2 separate regions of the Homo sapiens genome follow, and region 2 is linked to region 1. Evidence: promoter capture Hi-C in human tissues and cell types (Jung and others, 2019). All regions are on one chromosome and are shown on one strand. Each heading gives the region's core, a stretch centred on a gene start or on the middle of the fragment in contact. The rest is flanking DNA. Distances are from core to core; before and after follow the strand shown.

The links. The method cuts DNA at HindIII sites, captures the fragments that hold promoters and counts their contacts. A contact is called where the count stands out against the background at its distance.
Region 2: a contact is called between a fragment that was not itself captured here and the fragment with the promoter of CNNM2 in region 1, in 1 of the 25 tissues and cell types used here (adrenal gland).

Annotation. Positions count from the first base shown.
Region 1 is chr10:102,913,598-102,921,386 of GRCh38, reverse strand. CNNM2 (cyclin and CBS domain divalent metal cation transport mediator 2) reads right to left here and starts at 3,093. Exons shown (of 8, transcript NM_017649.5): 1 at 1,286-3,093. The coding sequence starts at 2,906. LOC107984265 (a long non-coding RNA gene) reads left to right here and starts at 3,052. Exons shown (of 3, transcript NR_160733.1): 1 at 3,052-3,219. RefSeq lists silencers at 2,418-2,507, 3,118-3,297 and enhancers at 2,767-3,453, 3,454-4,140. The HindIII fragment of the contact is 11,141 bases long and covers 1-7,789 here.
Region 2 is chr10:102,784,420-102,792,208 of GRCh38, reverse strand. All of the region lies in intron 1 of WBP1L (WW domain binding protein 1 like), which reads right to left. Among named protein-coding and RNA genes, the nearest start is that of CYP17A1-AS1, 44 kb to the left of the region's middle. The HindIII fragment of the contact is 4,714 bases long and covers 680-5,393 here.

The sequences.
Region 1 (7,789 bases), core at 1,844-4,343:
TGTTCAGATCATCACATCCAGTGAGCTGTCACCAGGTACATATCACCTTTTTCAGAGGAGAGACTACTACCAGTGATCAAAATTCTATTTGAAGAAGGGAAACTTGGTTTTGAGGACTATCAGGTCACGAAAGGTTACATACACATTTCAATACCTGCACATGCCCTAGCATCTTAATAATTCAAAAACTCAGCATCCCTTGGTTTTCAAATAACACTATTTACTGGAAACATTCAGAACTTCAATAATAATAGTACAAGTTGCTATTTACCTGTTCATTATATGGTCAAACGAACAAATATAAATGATGTACTGTATAAGCATCTTGGAACGGTGAGAGTTGACGGAGACATACTTCAACTTAATGTATCGGATGATCAAGGTGGAAAAAAAGAACACGTTAAACTGAAAGAGTCAAGAAATAAATAAGCCCCAATAGAGGGATTCATCCCACTGTTAAAGGTTCAAGCTTTCTGCCAAAATCACACTTGGTTTGGGCAACTGTAACTGTTGTCAGATAAATGTAAACAAATAGTGAAGAAGGCTACGGGACATACAGCCTCTTCACAAAAGGCTGGCTAACCTCTAATCTTTCCAAGTTACATATTAATAACTTTAATTTAAAACAACAACAACAACTCTTTTCTAGCTAAGAGAAGTCACATCCAAAATGGGTGATTTTTTTTGGCGATACTTAGTTTACCCCACCCCTTACCCTCAAAGGCAGACCTCAATCTTCCCCACAAGTTGCCAGGCAAGCAGGAACAGAAGCTATAGAAAATGTACTTCGATCTTTGAAAGGCCAGTGTGGATGTTTAAGGAGGAGAAAAAGGACTGCACTGGGTTTACAAAAGCTAGTTACATGTTTTCCAAATGCCTGTGATTAAAGTCCACCAAATGGCATGGCATCAGCCAGCCCCTACCTTCACCTACTCACTGAGAACCCAGACAATGAAGGCGGCAGACCCCTCAAGAACAGAGGCCCACACACGGGACCAAAAAAAAAAAAATAAATAAGTGTCATGCACAGAAATTACACAGCCTGCTTTTTGATAATGGGAAAAAGTAAGTGATGGCAGTCTTGTGCTTTAAAATAACCTAGTAGCACTTACTAGTTCAATCCATCCCCAAATCCACGCCACCCTTTCAACTTTGCAATTAAGAGGGAGAAGGAGAAATCCCGGTCAACTCGCCTTGGGGGGTTGGTCTGAGGGTAGAGGACTCAAGTAGGGAGGAGGATGGAGAGAGAAAGAGCAAGCCAATGAAAGAGACCAAAATTTCCCACCTTTCTTAAATTCTTCCAGCATAGCGTCCAACTTGGTGTCATTGAAAACAAAGTGCAAGGGGTGGTTATAAAATTTGGTGATGGTTTTCAGGGGGGTACAGTCATCGGGATCCACGAAGGCCAAGTCTTTGACAAACAGCAGGTCCACGATATTGGAGCGCTCCCCTTCAAACACTGGAATGCGGGTGTAGCCGCTCTCCATGATCTCAGACATGGTGTTGAAGTCCAGGATGGCTTCGCCGGTGATCATGAAGCAGTCCCGGAGTGGGGTCATCACGTCCTCCACCGTCTTGGTGCGGAGCTCCAGCGCCCCTTGGATGATGTTCAGCTCCTCCTTAACGAGGTCGTTGTAGGGATCGGTGACCCGGAGCATCTCCAGCAGTTTTTCCCGGTTATAGACGGTGCCTATCTCCTGGCCCAGGACGCAGTCCAGCAGCTTGCTGACCGGGTAGGAAGCGGGGAAGGTCATCATCATGAAAAACTTGGTGAGGAAGATGGTGTTGGCCCCCACAGCCAGGCCATGCCGGGAGCAGATGGCCTGGGGCACGATCTCTCCGAAGATGACGATACCGATGGTGGAGACTACCACGGCCACGAGGCCCGAGCCGGCGATGTCGTCGAGCAGGATGGTGAGCGTGGTGTTGACCAGCACGTTGCCCAGCAGCAGTGAGCACAGCAGGTAGTTGCCCTGCCTGCGCACCGGCTCGATGCGCTTGGCGTAATTCTTCTCCTTCTCCGTGCCGCAGTTCTGCACGATGCGCAGCTCCATCGGGTCCAGGGCCATGAGCCCCAGGTTGAGGCCGCTGAACATGCCCGACAGGCACAGCAGCAGCGAAATGAAGATCACCTGCAGCCAGAAGGGCAGCAGGAACTTCTTCTCTTCGCCTACGATCATCTTGGTGTCCTCGCCGTCGTGGTAAATCCAGGTGGTCTCGGCCCACGGGGGCGGCGGGAGCCCGGCCACCCCCGAGCCACCCTTGCCCCCGACGGCGCCACCCGTGGACCCCGAGCCGCCGGCGCCCAGGGCGGGCGTGGAGAGCGACGTGCACAGGTAATAGGACTTGCTCTTCTCCATCTTGCGTAGCGGTTTGATCTCGATCTCGATGATGCCCGAGGTGCGGCGGTTGAGAATGATGTGGGGCAAGATGATGATGTCTGAGGTGCGGATGCCGCATCGCTGGGGGCCGCTGTCCGGCTCTGGCGGCGCGGGGCCCCCCAGCCCGCGCTCCCCCGGGCTGTGGCGCCGCCGCTCGTGCTCGGTGAAGGCGATGCGGGACCACGTCTCGTTATTGATGTTCTGCCCGTACACCCGCAGCTTGACCCGGGTCCGTTCGCTCACCCGCAGCGCCCCCCCTTCCATGAACGACACGTCGTTCGTGTCCTCCAGTCGCAGCCCGATGATCACCGTCTCCTCATTCTCGCCCACCGCTGCGCAGCCGCCCGCACCGCAGCAGCAGCTCAGCAGGAGCAGCGGCAGCAGCCGCCCCGCAGCCGCCTGCAGGATCCCCCGGCCGCGAGCGCTGAGGCTGCGGCGCGCCGCCATCTTCCAAGTGGGCAGTGCGGCGGCTGCCTGCCCGCCCGCCATCTTTACTTTGGGTTCACAAGCGCCACAGCCAATCATAGGGTGGCTGCTCCAGCTGCGGCTTCATCCTTTCAACCCGGCGGCGCGAGCGCAGGTACCGGCCCCTGGGCGAGACTGCAACGGAGCGTCCGCGGCCAGTGCTCAGCAGTTCGCCTCCCTGACTGACACTGACTCCACCTCAGCCAGCTGAGGAACCCCGAGGCTCGCGGGAGGGAAAGAGGGAGGGAGAGGAGCGCCGGCTGCTCCCGCGAGAGGCAGGCCGACCAGCCAATCACAAGCGGGTGCCCGCCCTCCCAGCCAGGGGGCTGGAATGGGGGCGTGACCGTGTGCCGCTCCGCGGACCAATGGCAAGGTAAGTGGGTGGGGCGACGAGAGCCACCGTCCCCGTCTGCACGCCAAGTTTCCAACTGAAAGGCGCGTGACTCTTGTGTATGTGCGAGGGGAGGGGGCGTGGCCATCTGGGACTCGAGAGCCAGTCAAAGATGAGAGCTGAAGAAAAAGGGGCGTGGCATCCGTCCTGCTGCCAATGGGAAGGAGCCGTCCCTGGGGCCCGCGCTCCCCAGGGGCCCCTGTAGTAGATCCCGGAGCCTGGACCGGCCAGGTTTGGACTAAAGCCCTGCGGCGCAAGGCGGCAGGTTCCCGGTGCACCGGTTACTGGCTCTCCAGTTCTCAATTCGTAGGCACAAAGCCGCGCGCCCTCCTGCCCCGGAAGCCCGAGAAGCCAACTAGAGGCGGCTTGGGATGCACACAGCCTAAAAAGCCGGGGCACCGGCCGCTGTCCCCAACTCCACCTGCGCGGCGCTCCGCCGGGGTAAGCGGCGTCGGTGGCCCCGGCACAGCTGCGGACCAGCAGTCCTCGCGCCTCGAGACTCCTAGGGTACGGGCTCTCTGCGGCTCGCGATCACGTGGCGCCACCTGCGGGCAGCATGAGCGCCCTGCAACGCTTTCCAGGTCGGCGGCGTACCCCAAAAGGTGTGCAGAAGTTACGGATGGAGCGGTCAGGGGGACAGTTCCCCAAATTTCCTAGTCATAGAACCCCTACATATTATTGCTAGGAGTATATACTTCCTAGACCTTTTCCCATATTTACAGAGTGGGAAGGGCCCCGAATCTGTATTCCCAGCAGGAATTCAGGCAAGTTAAGGAAATGGGAGGGGGCAAGCATCCTAAACAGACCCACAGAGGCTCATTCTTAATCACACTGACCAAACTCTGCTAGGGTCTTAGGTCACTCAAGAGCAAAAAGTTCTGGAAACCTAGCTCCCCAGTACTCCCAACGTCACCTGGAGGTGACGAGGTAGCAGAGTAGCTGCCAAATTGGTCTTTTCCTTGAAACTTAAAACATTCAGGCCGGGCGTTGGTGGCTCACGCTTGTAATCCCAGTACTTTGGGAGGCCGAGGCGGGCGGAGCATGAGGTCAGGAGATCGTAGACCACGGTGAAACCCCGTCTCTACTAAAAATACAAAAAATTAACCGGGCATGGTGGCGGGCGCCTGTAGTCCCAGCTACTCGGAGAGGCTGAGGCAGGAGAATGGCGTGAACCCGGGAGGCGGAGCTTGCAGTGAGCCGAGATCGCGCCACTGCACTCCAGCCTGGGTGACACAGGGAGACTCCGTATCAAAAAAAAAAAAAGAAAAAAAAGAAACTTAAAACATTCAAAATGTTTAATGTTTCTCTACCTCTTTTGTATTCTACAAGCACATCCCGCGCCCCCCTACCACCGCTTTTGTAAATGCATCAAACGTCTCTGATTAATTTCTGGTATGAGTAATTTCTGGAATGATTGCAGTGGCCTCCTAACTGATCTTTCCTCTTCGATACCTGTTCCTTTCCCTTCTCAACCCAGCAGCAAGTGATCTTGTCCATGAGATTCTGTTGCTCCCTTGGCTGAAACGCCTCCATTGGCTTCCCATCTCATCCTAGAGAAAGCCAAAGGACCTACAACATCCTACTAGGCTCGAAGGTCTGCTACCTCCCGTTACTTCTCGGACCTCATTACCTGCTGCTCTCCTAGTGGAAGGAGACTGATAATAAGCCAAATTAATTTCTCTCCAAACTGTTTCTCCATCACTCCAGGGATTTTCCCTTGCGAGCCTTTGCACTTACTGTTTGTTTCCTGGGCTTGGGACTTTCTTCCCCCAGATGTCAGCATAGCCTTGTTGTTCACCTCCTTTAGTGCTTTGCTCAAAAGCCATCTGATTTTAAACTTGCGGAAAACACTCCCTCTATGCCGCGTCTACTTTATTTTTCTTGAAAGCAAAGATCACTTTCTAATACACTATGTAAATTATTGATTTGGTTTGTTATCTGTCTTCTTCCACTAGAACTTAAGCTCCCTGAGGGCAGAAAGTGTGTCTGTTTGTTCACTGCTGTATCACAGGGGCCTAGAAGAATAGTAGATATATAGATAGATAGATGTATATTATATACATATATATTTTATATATATATATATATATATATATATATATATTTCTTTTTTTTTTTTGAGAGAGAGAGATGGAGTCTCATTCTGGCACCCAGGCTGGAGTGCAGTGGTGCGATCTCGGCTCACTGCAACCTCTGCCTCCTAGGTTCAAAGGATTCTCTCTTGCCTCAGCTTCCCAAGTAGCTGGGACTACAGGCATGCACCACTTCGCCCAGCTAATTTTTGTATTTTTAGTAGAGACGAGATTTCACTATATGTTGGCTAGGCTGGTCTCAAACTCCGGACCTCAGGTGATCCACCCATTTGGGCCTCCCAAAGTGCCTGGATTACAGGCATGAGCCACCACACCTGGCCCTAGATATTCTTTATTCTTTTTTTAAAACAAACAAACAAAACAGGGTCTCGCTCTGTCATCCAGGCTGGAGTGCAGTGGCACAATCATGGCTCACTGCAGTCTCCACTTCCTGGGCTCAGCCTCCCAAGTAGCTGGGACTACCGGCACATGCCACCACATCTGCCTAATTTTTTTTTTAATTTTTAGTAGAGACAGGGTTTCGCCATGTTCCCAGGCTGGTCTCAAACTTCTTGCCTCAAGAGATCCTCCTTACTTGGCCTCCCAAAGTGCTGGGATTACATGTATGAGCCACCAGGCCTGGCCAATGATAGATATTCAAAACAATATATGTAGAATGTTAAATAAATGAAAGTATTTATTCTGATTATTTTAAACAATGTCCTGAGTCTAGTTTCCAGCCCTTCCATTTCTGATGCTGCTTCCCCTACCTCAAGTCTCATACTGCTATATTTGAAAAGTAAGTTCAGATGAAGAAAACCACCCACAGGCTCAGGCTTGGCATGCATTTATAAGAATGGCATTATGGAAGTTTCCCAAGAAAAAAATGATTTTTAAGGATATTTGGCAAAGGTTAAGGATAGACATGATCCTTCTAACTCAGTGGATTGAAAATAAACCATTTTAACTTCATAAAAAGTGGAAATACTACAAATGTTTTTAAGGGAGCTAAGAGAGAAGACAGGCTCTCAAATGCTGAAAGTACATGTGTGGAATAGGAGTGAAGTCGGGGGAGGAGGAGCTTGCCAACCCTACAGACATTTCCTGTGCATTTCAGAGAAAGCTACAACAGGACAATGTGACATTCAGCAATTTAGAAGCAAGTTAGAAATTCAGGACTTCATAGAAGAAAAGGTCAGAAAGGACACCCAGACAACTTACAATATTAAAAAAAAAAAAAAACTCAAATTCACACAGAGGGTTGCTGAATGATCCTGGATGGTTGGTGGGGGTTTATACTCTTCATGTATACTCAAGACACACAGAGCAATCTAGATGCCTAAGTCAAGTAATTGTTCCTTAGCAAGAGGGATCTTCAAGTTTGGAGGCTTTTTGGCTTCAGTAGTTTCTCTTCTTTTTTTTTTTTTTTTTTTTTTTTTTTGTGGTGGGGAAGGAGTTTTGCTCGTCGCCCAGGCTAAAGTGCAGTGCAGCAGCATGATCTCAGCTCACTGCAAGCTCTGCTTCCCAGGTTCAAGCAATTCTCCTGCCTTAGCCTCCCAAGTAGCTGAGATTACAGGAGCCTGCCACCACGCCCGGCTAATTTTTTGTATTTTTAGTAGAGACGGGGTTTTGCCATGTTGGGCAGGCTGGTCTCGAACTCCTGACCTCAGGTGATCTGCCTGCCTCGGCTTCCCAAAGTGCTGGGATTACAGGCGTGAACTACCATGCTCGGCCGTTACCCTCTTTAGTGAGTACCTGCTATAGAGCAGGCTTATGGTGACTTCCAGGGACTTCCCAGCCCGTCCATTTGTTTAAATGGAGGGCAAGGTCAACACCTGCCTCTAGGGATCTCTTCTGAAATCTGGAAGAAAAACAAAAATGAGGCTCTTGAATTATGATATTTCACCTCCATAAAGGGGGACAAAAGGCCCAAGATTGCTAAATGGTTGCTGCTGCTGCCCAATCCTATTTAAAGTTCTGACGGTCTGACCTTGGGCAAGTCATTTAGATAAAGCTAGAACCACATACCTTCCCTAACTAACCCTCTCTTTCCAGAATCCTTCACTATATACTAAAAGGGAAAGGTGACTTCAATTTTCTCATCTGCAAAAGATAAGCTCCCAAGTCTGTAGGTTCAGGGATTTAGAAGGCATTGCATCCAGACCTAAAAGTCTTTTAAAGTTTGATAAGTTTGATTTTCTTAAAGATGGCAAGTAAAACACTAAATGTCATTCTACACATTTTGTTGCTGAACATAAAGCTGATTTTATAGAGAAGCTTTTCTTTTTTCCAAAAATTGCCTACTTATAAAAAGTATTCGTATTTATTGCTTCAACGGTATCATTTCTTTTTTCTTTTTAGGGAACAGGGTCTCACTCTGTTGCCCAGACTGGAGTGCAGTGGCACAATCATAGCTCACCGCAGCCTCAAACTCCTGGGCTCAAACTCAAGCAATCTTCCTTCCTCAGCCTCCTGAGTAG
Region 2 (7,789 bases), core at 1,787-4,286, 130 kb after region 1:
CACAGTGACCAGCTCTGAGAGACAAGGCACACATGGTTACCAAACAGAAAACAAAGGCATAAAGAAGAGACAAGCAAGACCAACACCAAACTGGAAAAAACATTTTTACACTGGAAAGGATAAACAGTATGCCTTTTGCACATATGCAAAAAATTATCTCCTCTCTTTGGTGGCAGTATAAACTGTGGGACTAACAACATTTTCCTCAACAGTTTCCACATCTTACAGTTGCTATTCTTAGCTGAGCCACTGTAAAGGTCAATTTAATCAGCGTAAAAACTTTCTAAGTGCCAGCATAAAAAGACACACTGGGCAGTAATGTTTCCCCAGGCATGGTTTTAATCTGCCAATTTATGGGTCTGGAAAACTCTGCTAGCAACTGGCTAATGGCAACAGCGTCATGTCCTTAGGAAAACACTTTAAAGTTTAAGAGTGAAAAATAAGAATTGAAGTCCTTCCTGGGATGCTAAAGCACAGGACACCAAATATCTTGGCTGCTGGATATGAATTAATTTGGAGCATCACCTCTGGCTTTCCCTGCAGGAAGAACTAAATCTTTTTTTGTTTGTTTAAATAGAGACAGGGTCTCCTCATGTTGCCCAGGCTGGTCTTGAACTCCTGGGCTCAAGGGATCCTCCCACCTCGGCCTCCCAAAGTGCTGGGATTACAGGTGTGAGCCACCGTGCCTGGCCAAGAACTAATTCCTAATGGAAATGTTCAGTTCTCCAAATCATTTAACACATATGTATTGACCCCCTTCCCCCAACCATGTGCCAGGCACTATGTGGGATGCTATAGCTATAGCAATAAGCAAGAGATTCGGGGGGTGGGAGGGGAGAGTTTCCGCTTCTGGCAATATAGCTGGGTAGGTAACTAAAAATTATTCTGCTATAAAACCCTGGCTATACAACAATCACTTTTAATTACAAAGCTGAACTTGCAAGAAAGCAAGGAGGATCACCTGGGACCAAAAACGACAGCGGGAACTAGAAACCACAGTAGTAAATGAGATCAGGCCTTTCCAGTTGACCTAGAAAGTGGGGTAGTTTGTTGATCTTGGGCCCACCTGAAACAGGGAATTGGAACTGAGAACCAGTACAAAGCTGGCGCCCTCAGAGGGGGAGAACAGATTAGAAAAAACATTAGCCCACTGGCACATAGTGACAATAAAAACTCTGAAGTGGGAGGAAAACAGTATCTCCTCTAATAATGTGTGATCACAGATTATTTCAGATTTGAATTGTACTACTACATGGTCTGAGGATCCCCAAGCCAAAAATTTAACACAAAAAGTAGTCCCAGGCTGGCAATAAACCTGCAACATCTGGCAGAAATACAAAACTGAACAGATCTACCCTCAGCCACGGCACAAAGGATTCCTACACATAAAGTTCTGTTGGCCAGGCGCGGTGGCTCACGCTTGTAATTCCAGGACTTTGGGAGGCTGAGGCGGGCGGATGACGAGGTCAGGAATTCGAGACCAGCCTGGCCAACATAGTGAAATCCTGTCTCTAATAAAAATACAAAAAAATTAGCTGGGCGTGGTGGCGGGCGCCTGTAATCCCAGCTACTCCGGACGCTGAGGCAGGAGAATTGCTTGAACCCGGGAGGCAGAGGTTGCAGTGAGCCGAGATTGCACCATTGTACTCCAGCCTGGGCGACAGTGAGAGACTGTCTCAAAAATAAAAATAAAAATAAAGTTCTGTTGAAGATAAGCTCACAATCCAAAATATAAAAATGTATGCAAAACTAATCCATTACAAACAAGATGACAAATTCAACAAATAGCAGGATAAGACCCCCTGAAAAAAAGTCCCTATAAGATACAAGCATATCTCAAATGATTAAAGCCAAAAAGAAAGAATTAAAAACACAAGAAAAGAACACTACCAAACAAGAAATAGTAACAGGCAGATAAAACTTGTAGAAAAATAGTTATTGAAAGAAAAAACTCAACAGATGGGTCACACAGAGAGGAGACCAAGTTAAAGAGGAAATTGATGAACTAGAGAACAGATCTGAGAAAATTACCATCAAAGTGCTTCTACAAGAGAAAACATGGAAATGAAAAATGAGAAAGAAGCTTGAGAAGAAAAGAATGGAGGAGAGGAAATATTTAAAGGGATAACTAAAAATTTTCTATATAAGACTGATTAAAGATACAAAATTTCGGCCGGGCGTGGTGGCTCATGCCTATAATCCCAGCACTTTGGGAGGCCAAGTTGGGCAGATCATGAGGTCAGGAGATCGAGACCATCCTGGCTAACACTGTGAAACCCCATCTCTACTAAAAATACAATTAGCTGGGCGTGGTGGCGGGCGCCTGTAGTCCCAGCTACTCGGGAGGCTGAGGCAGGAAAATCGCTTGAACCTGAGAGGCGGGGGTTGCAGTGAGCCGAGATCATGCCACTGCACTCCAGCCTGGGTGACAGAGTGAGACTGTCAAAAAAAAAAAAAAAAAGATACAAAATTTCCAGATAATAAGAAGCCCACACCTAGGTACACTGTATGAAACTGCAGAGTGACAAAGGCAAAAAGATTTTTAAATATGTTCCAGTTGGGAAGACGGACAATTAACAAGCAAAATTATAATTTCACTAGCAGTAATAAGCTCCATGAGGATAATAAAACACGATAATGAGACAAAGAGTTTTAGATAGGGTGGTCAGGAAAGGCCACTCTGAGTAGGTGACATCTGAGTAGAGCCCTGACTGCTGAAAAAGAGCCAGCTTAACCAGACCGGTGAGAACAGTGTTCCAGGAAGAAGAAATATCAAATCCACGCAAAAACACCAGGGCAGAAACAAGCTTGGTGTGCTCAAGGAAGAGAAAGAAGACTAGTGTAGCTGAGTACAGTGATCTCAGGGAAAGCAGTGTGAAAGGGGAGCTAAGAATTCAGCTGAGGTCAGATCTCATAGGCTTTGTATAACAATTAAAATAATCTCCAGGCTGGGTGCAGTGGCTCATGCCTGTAATCCCAGCACTTTGGGAGGCTGAGGCAGGTGGATCACCTGAGGTTACGAATTCGAGACCAGCCTGGCCAACATGGCGAAAACCCATCGCTATTAAAAATATTTAAAAAATTAGCCATGCGTGGTTGTGCGCACCTGTAGTCCCAGCTACTCAGGAGGCTGAGGCACAAGAATCACTTGAACCCAGGCGGTGGAGGTTGCAGCAAACCGAGATTGTGCCACTGCACTCCAGCCTGAGCAACAGAGCAAGACTCCGTCTCAGTAAAAAATAAATAATAAAATAAAATAAAATAATCTCCAAAGTACCACAGTTTATGAATTCATTGTTGGCTTTGGCTAGTCCCTCCCTTAGGTTATGGTGGAGACTTGAATAAATATATAAATATTTTTGCAACTCTCATACTTATTCTTTACCTTGAGCCTTTATTTATCCCCCCCAGCCAGGTTGTGGCTGCTCTTGCAGAGTAAGCAACAAAACAAACTTTCCTTCCATTCTTGAACCAGGAATGGCTTTCTAGAAAGGAGACCAAAGTCTAGCACTGCATATCTACTAGGAAAAAGTTCTAAATGATTTTGGTAATGCTCTGTAGCTAAAGGATAACGCAGTTTTCATAAAGCAGACATTTGAAATGGCTAAATAAGACAGCAAACAACTTTAACTTAGAATCAGCTATTTTTGTTCTATCCTAGATAGAATCTTCAAGTTCTGAAAATGCAGCACTTTCAAGCCCAGGTCCTTAGAAACATATTTGTAGGTGGTAAGGAGGCAAAGCTTCATGTATTCACCTATATTTTTACCTATATTTTTACAATTAGAAAGTTAAGATCAGCCAGGTGTGGTGGCTCATGCCTGTAATCCCAGCACTTTGGGAGGCCGAAACAGGCGGATCATGAGATCAGGAGATCAAGACCATCCTGGCTAACACTGTGAAACCCCGTCTCTACTAAAAAATGCAAAAAATTAGCCGGGCGTGGTAGCTACTCGGGAGGCTGAGGCAGGAGAATGGCATGAACCCAGGAGGCAGAGGTTGCAGTGAGCCGAGATCGCACCACTGCACTCCAGCCTGGGTGACAGAGTGAGACTGTCTCAAAAAAAAAAAAAGAAAGAAAGAAAGTTAAGATCACGTTCTCCCTGATAGTATTGGTTTTGTTTTTTTTTTCCTGAGGCAGGGTCTCTGTCACTCAGGCTAGAGTACAGTGGCACGATCTCGGCTCACTGCAACCACCACCTCCCAGGTTCCAGTGATTCTCCTGCCTCAGCCTCCCGAGTAGCTGGGACATCAGGCGTGCACCACCACGCCCAGCTAATTTTTTGTATTATTAATAGAGACAGGGTTTCACCATATTGGCCAGGCTGGTCTCGCACGCCTGACCTCAGGTGATCCGCCCACCTCGGCCTCCCAAAGTGCTGGGATTACAGGCGTGAGCCACCGTGCCTGACCACTATTGGTTTTTTAGACTGTTCAAAGACCTGAGGGAAATAAAGAGAACTGTTCAAGGGCACACATTTTCAAATTGGGTAGAAGGAGAGTACAGAAGGGCTGAGGATGAAGAAAGTAAGCTCAAGAAGGGGGATGATGCAGCAGGAGTCCTGGCCTATTGCTTCCCATGTGTTAGTCTAGTCTCCCCTCTCTTTTTTTTCCCCCTCTGGAAACAGGGTCTCACTCTGTCACCAAGGCTAGAGTGTAGTGGCACGATCATAGCTCACTGCAGCCTCAACTTCCCAGGCTCAAGCAATCCTCCCACCTCAGCCTCCCAATTAGCTAGGACCACAGGCATACGCCACCACACCCAGCTAATTTTTTTTATTGGTTGTAGAGACAGGATCTCACTACGTTGCTCAGGCTGGTCTCAAACTCTGGGCTCAAGTGATTCTCCTGCCTCAGCCTCCAACAGTGCTGGGATTTCAGTCGGGAGCCACTGTGCCCAGTCTAATCTCCCTTTCTTTGATGGTGGGGTTGTCATGTACTACTTTCGTATCCTTTCTAGTATATACCACACCTGACAATTATTCCATAAGCTTTGGCTAAAAGAGCTTACTCAATTCCATCCTTCCCCATAAAGGGCAAGCCACTGCTAAGAAGTTAACCAAGACTTTGTCTTGCATGCAATGGGACACTAGGAATGGATTTTTATGCTGTTTGGCTGAATTCAGTAGTTTTCCAAAAGAACAAATAGCCTGGGCTACATGGGTAGGTTCCCCTAACCAAGCCAGTAAATCTTCTGATAAGGTTCAGCCTCATCCCTCAGATCTGATAGTGTGGTTTACTCCTTAAGGGCTCTGGACTCCAGCTCCCTGGGCTTAAGAGGACCCAGTCCCCCATGCTTTAGCTATAGAGTACCCTAAAGAGTAAAGCCAAAGACTGGAGCTTGTGACCAATGTAAGAAAAGCCTAGGATCAAAAGAGATGGCTGCTGCTTCAAGATGAGCCCACAGTGTCATGGTCCCCAAAGGGGAGTCCCAGGGGTAGTAGTGGGGACAATAGAGGTCCACTGACTTCAACCCACAGGGCATCCTGGAACAATCTGGTCTGGTCCCTCCCAAAGACTAACACTAGTCAAGAATCTGAGGAAGGGCAACACAGTGAATCAGGACAATAAGGGCATCTTATAAATAAGTGAATTTGCCCCCACATAACAATGAACATGCTTAGACAACAAATGCAACAAAATAGGGATGTGTTTCCCAAAAGTGTGGTCCATGGGCCCCAGATCATCTGAAATATTTGTCAAGAATGTAGATAGACTGAGACCCTCTAGGGGCAGGGACTGAAAATCCGCCTTTTAAAACATGCTCCCCTGGTTATGTTTATGTATATTCAAGCTTGAGAACCACTGCCCTGGATCTAAAAAGAACATACAATAAACAGTTCCTGCTCTCTAAACATGAAATAGACTCATATTCGTTTTCTAGAATCCCAAACGTGTCCCAACACAGTTACCCACAAGAGTACCTACATAGAATCAAGGCACATTATTTATACTCTCTATGCCTCATTCCATTAAAACATATAATAGATCATACACATAAATTTTAAAAAGAAGTGACATGTTAGCTACGCTCCCATCCACACCAGTACTGTTACTGCCAAAGCTGCACTGCAACTACATCCTCATTAAACAGCCCCCAAACAGAGCAGCCAGCAAAAAAATTAAAATCCATTTCCTGTGTTGCTATTAGGAACCTGAATAACAAATTCAGAAAAAGCTACTTGACCCTGGTAGGAAAATCCCACAGCAAAAATCGGAAGTTGCAACATATCCCATGGTTTTATTAAGGTCTACTTGTCAATGTCCCAGGGCATGCAGGCCTGTGGAGTCTGGCAGGCTACAGAGGCACTGGACCCTGGTTCATGGACCACTCTTTCACCCCTGGACACTTAGAAGGAAAAGCAGTCCCCAGGAATTCCTCATCACTGGCCTCTTCTGCTACAGAGTAAGTCCATTGAGAAGCATGGCTTCTTTAGCAAGGGCTGGTGCAGAGAGCTGAGGGCTGAAATAGCAGGTAGCATGCAGCGGAGCAGGTGAGTAGCAGGTGGCACTCAGGCAGAGCAGAGGGGCAGTTTAGCCTACTGTCATCCACTCACAGTTGGTGCCATGAAGTAGGTCCTTTTCTTCCCACAGTTGTATCACTGCCTCTCCCCTCTTAAAAGTGGGGATTGCACTAGTGGCCCTTAAGCCCCAGTGGACCCACTAATGAGTTCTATGCCTACATGGCACCGTTGTTTTTCAACTTTTAAAAAGTGGGCTGAGGCTGGGCGCAGTGGCTCACGCCTGTAATCCCAGCACTTTGGGAGGCCGAGCTAGGTGGATCATGAGATCAGGAGTTCGAGACCATCCTGGCTAACACGGTGAAACCCCATCCCTACTAAAAATACAAAAAATTAGCTGGGCGTGGTGGCAGGCGCCTGTAGTCCCAACATCTCGGGAGGCTGAGGCAGGAGAATGGCATGAACCTGGGAGGTGGAGCTTGCAGTGAGCCGAAATCGCACTACTGCACTCCAGCCTGGGTGGACAACAAGATCGAAACTCTGTCTCAAAAAAAAAAAAAAAAAAGTGGGCTGGTGCCTGGCGCAGTGGCTCACGCCTGTAATCCCAGCACTTTGGGAGGCTGTGGTGGGCAGATTACCTGAGGTCAGGAGTTCAAGATCTGCCCGGCTACCATGGTGAAACCCTGTCTCTACAAAATACAAAATTTAGCCGGGCATGATGGCGGGTGCCTGTAATCCCAGCTACCTGGGATGCTGAGGCGGAAGAATCACTTGAACCTGGAGGCGGAGGTTGCAGTGACCTGAGATCGTGCCATTGCACTCCAGCCCAGGTAACAGAGCAAGACTCTGTCCCCGCCCTAAAAAAAAAAAAAAAAGAAAAAAAAGTGGGCTGGGTGCAGTGGGTCAGGCCTACAATCCCAGCACTTTGGGAGGCTGAAGTGGGAGGACTGCTTGAGCCCAGGAGTTTGAGACCAGCCTGGGCAAAAAAGCGTGACCTCATCTCTATTAAAAATTTAAAAAATTCGCCGGGCGCGGTGGCTCACGCCTGTAATCCCAGCACTTTGGGAGGCCAAGGTGGGCAGATCACGAGATCAGGAGGTCGAGACCATCCTGGCTAACACGGTGAAACCCCGTCTCTACTAAAAATACAAAAAATTAGCCGGGTGTGGTGGCGGGCGCCTGTAGTCCCAGCTACTTGGGAGGCTGGGGCAGGAGAAAGGCGTGAACCCAGGAGGCAGAGCTTGCAGTGAGCCAAGATTGTGCCACTGCACTCCAGCCTGGGCGACAGAGCAAGACTCTGTCTCAAAAAAAAAAAAAAAAAAAAAAGA